2 separate regions of the Homo sapiens genome follow, and region 1 is linked to region 2. The links are contacts of gene promoters, found by promoter capture Hi-C in blood cells and fetal thymus (Javierre and others, 2016). All regions are on one chromosome and are shown on one strand. The core of a region is centred on a gene start or on the middle of the fragment in contact, and the rest is flanking DNA. Distances in the headings are between cores, read along the strand shown. Region 1 holds the start of WFDC1 (WAP four-disulfide core domain 1). Region 2 holds the start of ADAD2-AS1 (ADAD2 antisense RNA 1).

What was found. The method cuts DNA at HindIII sites, captures the fragments that hold promoters and counts their contacts. A CHiCAGO score of 5 or more calls a contact.
Region 1: the fragment with the promoter of WFDC1 here is called in contact with the fragment with the promoter of ADAD2-AS1 in region 2 in 1 of 17 cell types (endothelial precursors); the score reaches 5.3 in endothelial precursors.

The regions. Positions count from the first base shown.
Region 1 is chr16:84,290,916-84,298,251 of GRCh38, forward strand. It overlaps WFDC1 (WAP four-disulfide core domain 1), which reads left to right and starts at 3,963. Exons shown (of 7, transcript NM_021197.4): 1 at 3,963-4,200. The coding sequence starts at 4,057. LOC124903734 reads left to right here. Exons shown (of 6, transcript XM_047435022.1): 3 at 783-1,061; 4 at 1,584-1,635; 5 at 2,602-2,720; 6 at 3,418-3,923. The coding sequence starts at 1,058. The coding sequence ends at 3,923. The HindIII fragment of the contact is 4,383 bases long and covers 3,549-7,336 here.
Region 2 is chr16:84,195,597-84,202,732 of GRCh38, forward strand. It overlaps ADAD2-AS1 (ADAD2 antisense RNA 1), which reads right to left and starts at 1,457. Exons shown (of 5, transcript NR_147175.1): 1 at 1,286-1,457. ADAD2 (adenosine deaminase domain containing 2) reads left to right here. Exons shown (of 10, transcript NM_001145400.2): 6 at 1-101; 7 at 219-448; 8 at 531-774; 9 at 1,051-1,171; 10 at 1,274-1,570. The coding sequence ends at 1,378. RefSeq lists an enhancer at 65-687. The HindIII fragment of the contact is 32,016 bases long and covers 1-7,136 here.

The sequences.
Region 1 (7,336 bases), core at 2,713-5,212, 98 kb after region 2:
GTGATGGCCTTGGCTGAACCTTAGAGAAGGAGTTTGATATCTCAGACAAGCAAAACTTAATAGAAACATAAGGCAAGCCACATGTGTAATTGTAAATTTTCTAGTAGCCATGTGAAACAGATACGGAGCCGGGTGCAGTGGCTCATACCTGTAATGTCAGCACTTTGGGAGGCCGAGGCAGGTGTATGGCTTGAGCCCAAGAGTTCAAGATCAGCCTGGGCAACATAGTGGGACCTCGTCTCCAAAAAGAAACAGGTACAGTTAATGTAATACCATATTATATTTAACCCAATATAGCATAAACATTAGTAGTTGAATTAGCAGTTGAATGCACGACCAACGTAAAAACTCCTAATGAAACGTTGACATTTTTTTTTTCCTGTCTCCAGCCAACAACAGATGCTGGTGAGGCTGTGGAGAAAAGGGAACGCTTATACACTGTCGGTGGGAGGGCAAACTAGTTCAGCCACTGTGGAATGCAGTTTGGAGGTTTCTCAAAGAACTTAAAGTAGAATTACCATTCAACCCAGCAATCCCACGACTGGGAATATATGCAAAGGACAGTAATTCATTACTGTCATAAAGACACATGCACTCACAGGTTTTCCAAATCGGGTCTGCATTTTATCCTTATGACAGATCTCATTTCAGACCAGCCATGTTTCACAGGGAAGCATGGGTAGAGAGCGACAGCCACGTCGAGCCATCGAGCTGGTAGATGAAATGTGTTAAGCACAACTCATTCATTACACCGTCTTTACTGAGTGTCTACTTTGCACCAGGCACTGCTTAGGGATCGGCGATTCCAAAGTGAACAAACAGATCCCCAGAAGCTGCCCCCGTGGAGCTGACATCCTAGTGTGGAGACATAGACGATAAACGAAGAAAGCAAAGTTAGTAAAATACAGAATATGTCAGGTGGAGATGAGTACGAAGAAGCATAAAACCAAGAGGGGCACCGTGAGTCCCAGTGGTATGCAAATGGTGGTTTTCAATCCTGGGGTCAGAGAGGACCACAGCAAGAAACTGACACGTGAACAAAAGTCTGGAGGAGGTGATGGGTGAGGAGTGCCGCAGCTGGGTGGAAAAGCATTCCAGGTGGAGGGCGCTGCAGGGGCACAGGGCTGGCGCCTTGCCCAGCAAGGAGGCTGAGAGAGGGCATTTGGAACCTCGTCTACCCAGAGGGAGGGGAGTCATACTGTTGGCAGAAGTGAGGCCACCCAGGGAGAGAGAGAGAGAGGCAGGAAATGGGCCAAGACTGTAACATCAATGGGAAACGCCTACATTTTAAGGGGAAGGTGGAGATGGAGGATGAGCAAGAACCACATGGGAGGCGTTAGCTGCCTTAGGAGAGCGCAGGGCCCCAGGTTCCAAGCAGCAGGAAGTTTCTCAAATGGAACCTGGGCCAAGGTTCCGCTCTGCCTGGAGAACAGGGTGCGGGTGGAGGAGGCCCAGGAGGCGGTGCCTCAGAACGCTCATCTCCTAACAGCAAGCATGTGCTGAGCCTAGATCCTCGCCTAAGTGCAGCTGGGCCTCATGGCAAACCTGCGAGTAAGTTCTGACTCCATACCCCTGTTTTACAGATGAGAAAACAGAGGCAGAGAGATGGGGCAGGACCTGTTCCAGGTCGTCCTGGTAAGTAGGGGTAGCAGCTCCATCATGTCCGTGGGTGGCTCCTGGCTTCTAAATAAGCAGCCTTGCCCTGCAGGGAGGGGCATTGAGACTGCGTCCCATAAAGCTGAAAGAAGAGGGAGTGGAGCACGCTGGACCATGCCCCCATAAGGGCTCAGCCAGTAGTTTCTGGATGAAGAAATGAAGGAATATTCTAGAATCTAGGGCAAGGTAATGATCAGGGCTGGGCCTAGCGGGAGGCAAAGGAGGCATCTAGGGTCTAAAATGTAAAAAGACTCTCACGCTTGGGCTCCTGGGTTTACAGGACTCTGATGGTGAACTTAAATTTTGCATTGCTCACTGGGCAAGTGTCTTAACCTCTCTGTGCATGGGATCCTAGACAGCACCTGCTTATAAGGCTAATATGAGACCTAAAAGCATTAAAATGCAGGAAGTGCTTCAAACATTGCCGAACACACAGACTGTATGGCTTTTAAGGTTTTTTTTTTTTGATACAGGGTCTTGCTCTGTGACCCAGGCTGGAGTACAGTGGCGCCATCACAGCTCACTGCAGCCTCAACCTCCCACGCTTAGGTGATCCTCCCATCTCAGTCTCCCAATTAGCTGGGACTACAGGTGTGCATCAGCACGCCGGGCTACTTTTTTTATTTTGTATTTTTTGTAGAGATGAGGTCTCACTATGTTGCCCAGACTGGTCTTGAACTCCTGGGCTCAAGGCATCCTCTGCCTCCCTAAGTGCTAGGATTACAAGTGTGAGCCACCGTACCCGACCTACACAGACTATATGTGTTTGCCACTATTGTCATTCACTAAAAGGCCAAGAGGGGTTGATGATACCTGCCCAGGGCATTCTGAAGGCTGTGCTGGCCAGGAGGTGGGGGGTGAGGGTCCCCAGGGAGGGAGGAACCAATCTTTCTGGAGCACTCACTCTGTGCAAGTGCTGGGCACAGCTGGCACCCTCTCCTGTAGCCCCACATCGATCTCAAGAGGCAGAGACTTTCACATGCCCATTTCACAGATGAGAGAACTGAGGACCATGAGCAAGAGGCTTTCCAGCATCTCGCAGAGGCTGAACTGGGATCAGGCAGGTGCGTCAAGCCTAGTGCTTGGGTCCCTTCTGCTTCGCCTAGGGGGGTGCCACAGGGTCTGACCTACCTGGGTTCCAGCCTCCTCTCTGCTGCTGTTGCATGACCTCAGGCAGCCCCCTCTGTTTCCTCATCTGTAAAGCGGGCATCAAAACAGTGTCTGTTTTGGGGCCGGGTGTGGTGGCTCACACACCTGTAATACCAGCACTTTGGGAGGCTGAGGCGGGCAGATCACTTAAGGTCAGGAGTTTGAGACCAGCCTGGCCAGCATGGTGAAACCCAGTCTCCACTAAAAATACAAAAATTAGCCAGGCATGGTGGCACATGCCTGTTATCCCAGCTACTTGGAAGGCCGAGACAGGAGAATCGCTTGAACCCGGGAGGCAGAGGTTGTAGTGATCTGTGATCACACCACTGCACTCCAGCGTGGGTGACAGAGCAAGACCCGTCTCGAAAAACAAAACAAAACAAAAAACCAGTATCTGTCTTGGAAGTGCTGAGAACAGACAAGGGAATATGAAGTTTGTGAAATGTTGAGCCCGCTGTGCTACATTCCTGTAAAACACACACGTGCACATGCACACCCACGTGCACACACGCATACACATAAATGCACATGTGCAGATACACCGGCTGACAGTGACAGCACACTTATGTGTGTGAAATGCTTTATGTGCTCAATTTCTTTTAAATCTCACAGGAAACACACGCTATGAGGAACTACCCACATGCCCACATCAGGCAGGAGGACCCCGGCGGGTGCAAGGGTGGAAGTCGTCTCTTCATGGCTGCACCCTTGGCCAGTGCCAGTCCAGCAGCCTCTTTCAAAGAAGCTTTTATAGGCAGATAGTTTGTCAGCCCAGCTCGAAATGTGAACAAGGTAGCAGCCGAGCCCCCACCCATCCGGCTGCACTCCCCTGCATGTCCAGCCCCGAGCCCTGTGTCAAGCACACCTCCTTGGGAGGAGACCGCCCCAGCCTGCAAGGAAGTGCTCATTATGGAGAGTGGAGAGTGACAGGCCACTCCCGGCCACGTCTCCAAGCAAGCCGGTGCCCCCTCCTCCTGCTGCCACCGCCCACTGAGCTGCCTGGGCTGCAGACGCCCTGGTTGGAGCGTCTGGGGCCAGATGTTATAGGGCAAGCTAAAAATAACCGGGCAGGCCAGCCACCATCGAGGAAGGGGCATGTGCTGGACGCGGACACATGATCCGAGGGACCCTGCTGGGTGGAACTAAGAAAGTCCAGCAGACTGTGCACGCTCCTGTCCCCACTCACAGGCCCACGCAGCGAGGGGGGCCCCTCTTCTGTGTGCGTCTGGAAGGTCGCTGCCCAGGGAGGAAATGCCTTTAACCGGCGTGGGGCCGGGCAGCTGCAGGAGGCAGATCATCCGGGCTCTGTGCCTCTTGCTACTTCTCCTCCACGCCGGCTCTGCCAAGAATATCTGGAAACGGGCATTGCCTGCGAGGCTGGCCGAGAAATCCCGTGTAAGTGCCTGGGATGGGGAGGCTGGGGCAGCCTGTGTGGGTGGGAGTCAGCCTTGAGGAGAGGCGATCCCTAGACACTGCCTTCTCCTGTAAGTGCTCCCCCAAAACGTGGCAAGGCAGGCGTCTTCCTATCCGTGTGTGTCTGAGTTGTGTGGTGGGCAGATGGGGCTCACCCCCAAAAAAGGACCCTTATCTGTGAATCAAGAGGCAAAAGACACATCACAAATGTGCCAAAGAATCGTGCCTTACTTTTGCCTTGTTACAAAAGTATGCTTGCTCCTGAAAGACAGCATCTCATTTCGGAACCCCAGGATTTAAACGGAGCATTCCGTCTCCCTGATCAGTACCAAATGTTTGTGAAATACACTTATGCATTCATGTGGTTGTTTATTCATTCAGCAAACAGAATGAATACACTCTGTTAAACAGAATTTAGCAGAAACCGCTCTGGGGAAGGCACTCTGTGGGGTCCTGTGGATACAAGATAAAGGAGGTACCAGCCCCCATCCTCAAGGGTGGCGTGGCCGAGGTGCAGAGGCAGTTGGGTGACAAACGATGGCAGTACAAAGAGAAGGCATGAGGCAGTGAGTGGCAAGAAACACATGCCCTGGGGCCAGATGTCTGGGTGTGAATCGGGCTCTGCTGCTCATTAGCTGCGTGGCTTCTCTCAGGCAAGCTGCTTGACGTCTCTGAACCCCAGCAATCTCATCTGCAAAAGACAGAGGGATGCATTTCTTCACACAACTATGTCTGGGTCGCCACTGTTTACCAGGTACTGTCCTAGGCTGTGGGGATACAGGCCTCACATCTCTGCCTGGGGAACTCAATGGGGGGCTGGGGGCAGCAAAGAATAAATGAGAGAGATCTCATTTATTAGTATGTGCAGATTGCAAGTGCTGAGGAAGCAATAAAGCAGGAAGGGAACTAGGAGAGAGAATGGGGTGGAGGAGGCTATCATTTTTGGTTCCTCCCACCCCCCAGAGATCACAGATCCGCAGGGACGGAGTGAGCCAGGACGATATCAGCACACAGAGGGCTCAAGAAGGTAATGCTGGCACCCACAGCACCTGTGTGAGGATTGAATGTCTCAGTATGTAGAACGTCTTTGCAACATAGCAAGCTGGCAGTGCATCTTGGCAGCTTTCAATCAAATAATTGTGACTTTGTTTGGTGTTGCCTAACAGGGTAGCATGTAGGTTCCTTGGGGTAGGGCAGGGTTCTGTTTCACTAATGTGTGCCCCTGGTGCCTGCCATTAAGTTGACGCCTGGTACATTCTTGTGGGTGAATTATGAGCGGCTGCAGTGGTAGCACGGGATGCGTGTGCAGCTCTTCCCCAGGAGAGTCAGACAGGGTTTTTAGGGTTGGGGACAGTGGACCTGTGGCTTTAAAGGATAAATAGGAGTTTGCCAGCTGGAGAAGAGGGAAGGGAGAATGATTAATGACCCCAGGCATAGTGGGGTGCCTGAAACTGTATTGAGACAAATCTGGGCCTCCAGGGCTCATATTCTCCATGTTCGGCACATGCTCGTGGCGGGAGACAGGAGGACTTCGAGAAGTGGAAAGAGTAGTAGAGTGACATGATGAGGCGCTTGGAGAAGGGAAAGCTCATGTGAGATGGTGTAGTCACCTAAGGCTTCCTGGAGGAGGTGGAGACCTTGACTGGATCTTGGGGAAGGATTAGGAATTAGGAGGAGGAAGGAAATTCCTGGAAGAAGGCTCAGCATGAGCCGAGGCTCACAGGCAGAAGTGGTGCATCTAAGAGCTGCTTGGGAGACCAGACCTGGCCAGAGGGGAGGCATTGAGGAGGGGTGAGAGACTCTTCTCAGATTTTATTGACTCCTCCATGCTCTTCTCTGGTGCAACAGGATGATTTAACCCTCAACTGTAGTTAGTAGCACTTTGGTTCTACAACCATAGAGAGATTGCCAATATGTCATCTGATTTTATCTCCACCATGTCCCAAGATGTCATAGGAGCCAGCACTGTGACATCCACATAGGAGGGTCAGGGTTGATATGCGCGGGGGATTTGGGGGAGTCTCTAAAACACAGGCCTGGGTGGGCTGCAGGAGCTGATTCACTTGTAGCCACCACTGGTCAGGATGCAAGTGCTTTGAATTGGCTCCTCGCTGAATTGAAACTTTCCCTGGTTATCAACAGATATTGGCCTCCTTCCTCAGCGCCTAGACATAGGTGAGGTTTATGCAGAACAACTGTGCCAGCCAGGCACGGTGGCTCATGCCTGTAATCCCAGCACTTTGGGAGGCCGAGGCGGGTGGATCACCTGAGGTCAGGAGTTCAAGACCAGCCTGACCAACATGGTGAAACCCCATCTCTACTAAAAATACAAAATTAGCTGGGTGTGGCGGCAAATGCCTGTAATCCCAGCTACTCAGAAGGCTGAGGTGGAAGAATTGCTTGAACCCGGGAGGTGGAGGTTATAGTGAGCCGAGATTGTGCCATTGCACTCCAGCCTGGGCAACAAGAGTGAAACTCTGTCTCAAAAAAAAAAAAAAAAAAAAAAAAAAAAAACTGTGCCTCAGAGAAAGCCCTGGGCGAAGACAGGCTGTTCGCCTGTGGCTCAGAGGACAGGGAGGGCTGGGAAGAGCACCTGGCCTGGAACTTATCACAGTGAAATCTCTAATGTGCTGTGCAATCTTGGACCACTCGCTGCCCTTCTCTGGTCCTCAGTCCTCACCTGGGAAATGAAGATGGAGAACCTATGACTTTCATGGCCCTTTCGTTCGACAGGGACTTACGGATGATAGGAAGCAGCCCCCACATGCACAAAGTCGAGACTTCCCCGTGAGGCACCACTCCCTCACCCTACGCTGAGTGAGACCTTCAGCCTTGGCCCTGACCCTCAAGGGCTATGGGCTCGTCAGAGTGAGGAGATGCTGGCTGTGTGCTGAACTGGCTTGCACCCCCTCTGGAGAGCCAGTTTTGTTCCACACAGCCATGATCACAAACTAAGTTATATAAACTTACAGTTAAATCATTTGTATTAAAAAGAAAGGAAAGAATTTTTTTTTTTTAAGACAGAGTCCCGTGGTGTGATCTTGGTTCACTACAACCTCCACCTCCCCGGCTCAAGTGATTCTTGTGCCTAGGCCTCCTGAGTAGTTGGGATTACAGG
Region 2 (7,136 bases), core at 207-2,706:
GCCCCCCAGCCAGGGCCCGGACCCCCATTCACCCTCAAGCCCCGCGTCTTCCTGCACCTCTACATCAGCAACACCCCCAAGGGCGCGGCCCGTGACATCTAGTATGCAGGGCCCCCGGGGCAGGCGGGGGATGGGGCTCCCTCGGTTGGGCTGCTGGGTGGGGGCCAGGGTCAGAAGAGCAGCCCTGAAGCTGATGTCTGTCCCCACCCGGCCCGCAGCCTGCCCCCCACCTCGGAAGGTGGCCTCCCGCACAGCCCACCCATGCGCCTGCAGGCCCATGTGCTCGGGCAGCTGAAGCCTGTGTGCTACGTGGCGCCCTCGCTCTGTGACACCCACGTGGGCTGCCTGTCAGCCAGTGACAAGCTGGCACGCTGGGCCGTGCTGGGGCTGGGTGGTGCCCTGCTGGCCCACCTGGTGTCCCCACTCTACAGCACCAGCCTCATCCTGGGTGAGCACGTGGTGAGGGCTGGGGGGGTGAGAAGGGAGGGCAGGGAGGTCACTCACCTTGTCCTGTCCCTTCTGCCCTGCAGCTGACTCATGCCACGACCCTCCGACTCTGAGCAGGGCCATCCACACCCGGCCCTGCCTGGACAGTGTCCTGGGGCCATGCCTGCCACCTCCCTACGTCCGGACCGCCCTGCACCTGTTTGCAGGGCCCCCGGTGGCCCCTTCCGAACCCACCCCTGACACCTGCCGTGGCCTGAGCCTCAACTGGAGCCTGGGGGACCCTGGCATCGAGGTTGTGGATGTGGCCACCGGGCGTGTGAAGGCCAAGTGAGAAGGGCCCCCTGGGGCCGGGCTGTGGAGCAGTGCTGGTGATGGAGGGCTCATGCATGAGCTTCCTCACCTCAGTCTAATCCCAGCGCAACCCCTTCGCTCAACCCCTTCGCTCAACCCCTTCCTAGCTCCGTAGTGGTGGCCACACCTCTGTCTGCCCTGTGAGTCCTGTGACATTGTCACAGTGTGAGAGGAGGTAGTGTGAGGTGTGTAGCAGGCCTGCTGGTCCAGCTTGTATCTCTCTGATCTCAGTGGTATCCTCTCTTCATCCAGTGCCGCCCTGGGGCCTCCCTCCCGTCTCTGCAAGGCCTCCTTTCTCCGGGCCTTTCACCAGGCGGCCAGGGCTGTGGGGAAGCCCTACCTCCTGGCCTTGAAGACCTACGAGGCTGCCAAGGTTGGTTCCCCACCCTCCCCCCGTCCCGGTCCCTCTCCAGCCCTGCAGTCCCTGCCCCCTGCAGGTACCTCCTCTCACCCCACCTCTCATCTCCCGCCCTAGGCTGGGCCCTACCAGGAGGCTCGCAGGCAGCTGTCTCTCCTCCTGGACCAGCAGGGCCTGGGGGCTTGGCCCTCGAAGCCACTGGTGGGCAAATTCAGAAACTGAAGCCAGCCTCGGCGGGACCGAGGTCCCGGAGCCAAGCTGTACCCCTGCTGGGGGAGTGCCCTATCTGAGGAGCGTTGTGGGGAGAACATGGGTTGTGCGGGGTGAAACTGGGGCTGGAGGGAAGGAGGAGCCTGCTGTGGTTGGGAGGCGGCTGCTGCACGTTTGGGCTTGAATAAAGAAGTATTTCTGGTTCCTGTGTGTGTAGTTGGCTGTGTGTGTGTGTGTGTGTGTGTTTATGTGTTGGGGTGGCCAGGGGCCCTTTGTTTGCGGAGAGAGCCCCTCACTCCTCCTTTGGGAGGCCCTGTGTTCACTGGGTTCCCACCTGGATCCTCTCACTGAGCCACTGAATTGTCACCCCCGCCCCTGTTCACAGGGCTGGAGGCAGGTTTAGGAGGGGAGGTGACCTCCCCTGGTTCCTCCTGTTTTCCAGCCTGTGTGCTGGAGGAGACCACGGAGGCCACGGGTTGCGGGTGTTGTAAAGGGTGGGAGGGCAGGCTGCTTGGATGTGTGAGCATTTTGTCCTCTGGCCGCTATTGGGGCTCCAAATCCTTGCCTTTCTGGGCCCCCAGGATGTGTGGGAGGGCAGAGAACACCCTTCCCTGGTCAGAGCTTTAGCTGCCCTGGCCCTCGAGGGTGCTGTGGGGTCTGGGCAGCCCCATGTTGAAGGGCGTGGGGAGGGCATGAGCAGCATCAGTGCTTTCCCTGGGCCGCCCGGCTGTTGGACCTGGGCGAGGCATTGGACCGCTAGAGCCTGCGTCTTCCACCATGGAGAGGGACAGTGCTCCTGCCCTGTGTGGGCTCGGCAGTTCTCTCTCCGTTTCCCCCAGGGTAGCATAGTAAGGCCACATGGCACTCAGGCACTCTGTTGACTCTGGATGGGGAGAGAAGATGGTAACACTAAAAGCATGTGTGCGTGCACACTCGCACACACACCTGGAACCTCACCAGCATGGGCACTATAGCCGTTGAGCCAGGAGCACAACAGCTTTGAAGTCCAGGGACCTGGGGCCAGGGACAGTAGAGGACCGTGGCCAGCCCTGTGACCCCCACCCTGTGACTCCCTCCCTGCATCCCTAGCAGTTGCAGGGTTCAGAACCACAGGCTACTCTCCCATGTGGGGTGTCTCTGGGAGGGATTAGCATCTAATTATGGGGCTGAGTAAGAAGATGGCGCTCCCCAGTGCAGGCAGGCACCATCCAATCCACTGAGGGCCTGCAAACAACAAGCAAGCAGAGGAAGGTGAATTCGCTCTCTCCCCTTGAGCTGGGACATCACAACTCCTGGGTCTCTGGCCTTCAGACTTGGACCAGGACTCATAACATTGGTTCTCCCAGTTCTCAGGCCTTCGAGTTTGGACTAGAACGCCACCACGTGGGCCCCCAGCACTCACACAGCAAATGGTGGGACTGCTTCGACTCCGTATCGTGTGGGTCAATGCCTCGCAATACATCTCTATATATCCTGTTGGTTCTGTTTCTCTGGAGAACCCTGACCGATGCAGACAGCTCACTCCAGAGCTGTCACTCAGGGCCAGGCCTAATGTTGAAGTCGTGCGATTGGGTCCTCTCCCTCCAACCCCCTTTTGTCTCTGCCACTGGGTGTGTGTGGCCGTGGCCACGGGCAGCCACTTAACCTCCGTGCTTGTAGGTTGACTCATCTAGAGAAATAATCAGAGGGCTGGTCCCAGGGGTGTGTTCTTGGCCAGCCTGCCCATCTGCAGGCCTGGGCTTTCCGTCTGCTTTCGCTGGGCTCATCCTGTCTCCTTTCCCCACAGTGACGATGAAATGGGAGAATCTGAGGGAGGTGGGGTAGAGGAAACAGCACCAGTGGACAGACTAGACAACTCCAGCACGCCTGAAGCATGGTGTGTCTGTTCTGTTTTAACCTCCCACAGCTTGCCATGATAGATGCGATCATTGCCTCAGTGTACAGGTGAGGAAACTGGCAAGGTGCAGTTAGGTAACTTCTAGAACACCCAGCACCTGAGGTGGGCTGGAGCTGTGGTGATGTGCAGGCCGCCAGGCTTCCAAGCCCTTCGATTGCAGCCACCACCCAGGGCTGCAGCTGGATTTCCTTACGTGACCTTGGATGAAACTCTGAACCTCTCTGAGCCCCAGTTTGCTCATTTATAAAACAAGGACTAGGTGATATCCTTCCTAAGGTTCCCTCGCGTTCTCTGCTCTGCTCTTTCCCGACTGCTGCAGGAGGTCAGGAGGATGCCCAGTGCTATTACAGGGAAGAGCTGCAGGCTGGCAGCCTGCGGGGAGGCGAGTCTGGAGCTGGGGGCATCAGGCTGGGAAAACGGCAGGCGGGAGGGCCGGAGAGGGGAGCTGAGAGGCAGGAGGAGCTGCAATTCACATGTGCAAAGGACAGGAGGTGAGCCCTTGCTGAGGGAGGAGGACTACAGAGAGAGGCGTTTGCACCAGCAGGAAGGGTCCGCGGGGCCGGGAAAGCCAGGAAAGCACCGATTTCTTGTTTGAGAAGACAAGGATTTTTACCTTTAGTTTTTGGTTTTTTAAAAAAACAAAAAAACAGAAAACACTTCTCAGGCCAACCTTGAAATAATGATTTCTCGTGGCTCTTTTTTTTCAGGGATTAAGAGAGGGGGGTTTAAGAACACCCAAGCCTATTAGCCTGTGTATTACACATTGTTTTCCCCAGGAAATAGTTTACATTGATTTACTTTTTGTACTGTAGTAGTAACTACAACCAAATCTGGAAATATACCAGCCATTTCCAATTTCAGTTTGATGCAATGAGCCTTTTGGTGTTCATTAATCACATAATCACTGGATAAACAAGTTTTTCAAATCGACATTAACTCTGTTGTGTTCCGCCAAATCAGTAATATTTGTCCCCACGTTGCATACATCTGCTTGTCCAGTGCTTTCCTCCCAAGACAGTCTTTTCGTGACATCAGAGTCGCTCAGTTCTTTTGACTCAGCTTGTTCATTACTGCGGGGTGATGATGAAAGCTACTTCTGAAATGCGGATCTGTTAATGTCTAGTTGGCCGCATCTCCTCTGGGTGTAAGTTTTACCAACAGTAGCATATTTGAATTGGGAAGTGATGTAATCTCACTTGGCACAAGTGCTGCCTCCTCCGAGTGCCATCCCGTCACTTCCTCCTGCAGCTCAGGGCACCCTCTGTTCCGTGCTGACCCATGTGTTGTCTTCACTCTGGGACAGAGTGTGCCGAGTGGAAGTGTGGACCTGGGAAGTCTCTGGGAAGCCAAGGCGCCACTCTGCCTCCCCAGTCCTCAGCTTCCCCACTTGCCAACTGAGACAGGATCACAGACATGCAGCCTGCAGGGCCATGGTGAGATGAGGGGGGAAGCGTGCCTGGCACTGTTCTTGGCTCTCTCGGCAGCCCTCAGCAGTGACTGTCATCAGGCCTATCTGCCATCAGCTCCCAGCATGGGGCCTTGTGCATTTATCTCCATCTCCTCCTGGGGGGGTCTCCCACATAGAAGGTGCCCAACAAACAAGCACTGAATGGAAAATTAGTTAGAGGATCACTTGCAGGAGTGTAACCTACCCCTATATAGAGAGAGACCAGAAACCCCGTCCTCAAAACCCTGTAGAAGACACTTTGAAAATTTCCACTGTGCTCTGAGCCCTTTTCCTATGCCCTGGAGCAGTCAGTGAGAATCTAGAGAAAAGTTAGTGAGAGTCTAGAGGAAAGTAAATTGTTACCTTGCCTCATGGTTTAGTGGTGAAATTACCTTTTTAAAAATTATAGTTTTAAAAGATACATATATATTTGAGATTTATCTATCTATCTGTCGCCCAGGCTGGGGTACAATGGAACGATCTCGTCTCATTGCAATCTCAGCCTCCCGGGTTCAAGTGATTCTCCTACTTCAGCCTCCTGAGTAGCTGGGACTACAGGTGCCCGCCACCATATCTGACTAATTTTTGTATTTTTAGTAGAGATGGGTTTTCACCATGTAGGCCAGGCTGTTCTCAAGCTCCTGGCCTCAAGTGATCCACCCGCCTCGGCCTCCCAAAGTGCTGGGAATACAGGCATACGCCACCGCGCCCGACCTAAAAGATATTTTTAAAATCGATTTTCCTGGGTATCCAGAGGCAGCAGGATGAAGTACCCTTCCCTCTGTGCCATGCACAAACATTAACTCAAATTGGATCACACACCTAACACAAGAGCCAAAACTGCGAAACTCTCAGAAGAAAACATAATAGTAAAATTTTATGACCTTGAGTTAGGCAAAACTTTCTTAGATATGTCATCAAAAGCATCATGATAAATGAAAAAATAGAGAAATTGGGACTCCATCGAAATAAAACCCTTTGTGTTTCAAAGGGTACCATCAACAAAGTGAAAAGAAAACTCACAGAATGGGAGGATATACTTGCAAATCATATATCTGATAAGGGGCATATACCAACAATATATAAATAACTCTTACAGCTCAGTAATAAATTCAGCCCAATGAATGGGCAAAGGATATGAATGGACATTTCTCTAAAGAAGATACTGAGGCCAGGCATGGTGGCTCGGGTTTGTAACCCCAGCACTTTGGGAGGCCAAGGCAGGTGGATCACCTGAGGCCAGGAGTTCGAGACCAGCCTGGCCAACTTGGTGAAACCCCATCTCTACTAAAGATACAAGAAAAAATTAGCCTGGCATGGTGGCAGGTGCCTGTAATCCCAGCTACTTGGGAGGCTGAGGCAGGAGAATCGCTTGAACCTGGGAGGCAGAGGTTGCAGAGACCCGAGATCGTGCCACTGCACTCTAGCCTGGGTGACAAGAGCAACATTCCATCTCAAAAACAAATAATATTAACAAAGACGATACTCAAATGGCAATAAAACACATGCAAAGACGCTCAGCACCATTAGCCATCAGGGAAATGCACATCACCATGCTAATGACAGCCGGGGGTGTTGGTGTGCACATGTGGTCCCAGCTACATGAGAGGCTGAGACAGGAGGATCACTTGAGCCCCGGGGGTCAAGGCTGCGGTGAGCTATGATTCTGTCACCCTGTACTCCAGCCTGGGTGACAAAGTGACCTCCTGTCTTAAATAAAATGTGGTATCACTTTACCCCCACTAGGATGGCTATAATAAAAAAGGCAGATAATAGCAAGTGTTGGTAAAGATATGGAGAAATTACAATCTTCGTGCACTGCTAGTGGGAATGGAAAATGCGGCAGCCTCTGCAGAACACTTAGGCAGGTTTTTTTTTTTTTTTTTTTTGAGACGGAGTCTCGCTGTTGCCCAGGTTGGAGTGCAGTGGCGTGATCTCGGCTCATTGCAGGCTCCGCCCCCTGGGGTTTACGCCATTCTCCTGCCTCAGCCTCCCGAGTAGCTGGGACTACAGGCGCCTGCCACCTCACCCGGCTAATTTTTTGTATTTTTAGTAGAGACGCGGTTTCACCGTGTTAGCCAGGATGGTCTCGATCTCCTGACCTCGTGATCCGCCCGCCTCGGCCTCCCAGAGTGCTGGGATTACAGGCGTGAGCCACCGTGCCCGGCCGACTTAGGCAGTTTTTCAAATGATCAAACGTAGTTAATATGTGACCCAGCCATTCCGCTCTTAGGTGTAAACCCAAGAGAATAAAATATATGTCCACTCACAGATCTATACACCAGAGTTCACAGAAGCACTATTCATAATAGCCCTCAAATGGAAACAATTCAAGTGCCATCAACTGATGAACGGATAAAAGGAGATGCGGTTCATCCATATCATGGAAACTATCCAGTCATAAAAGGAATGAAATAGCGACACAT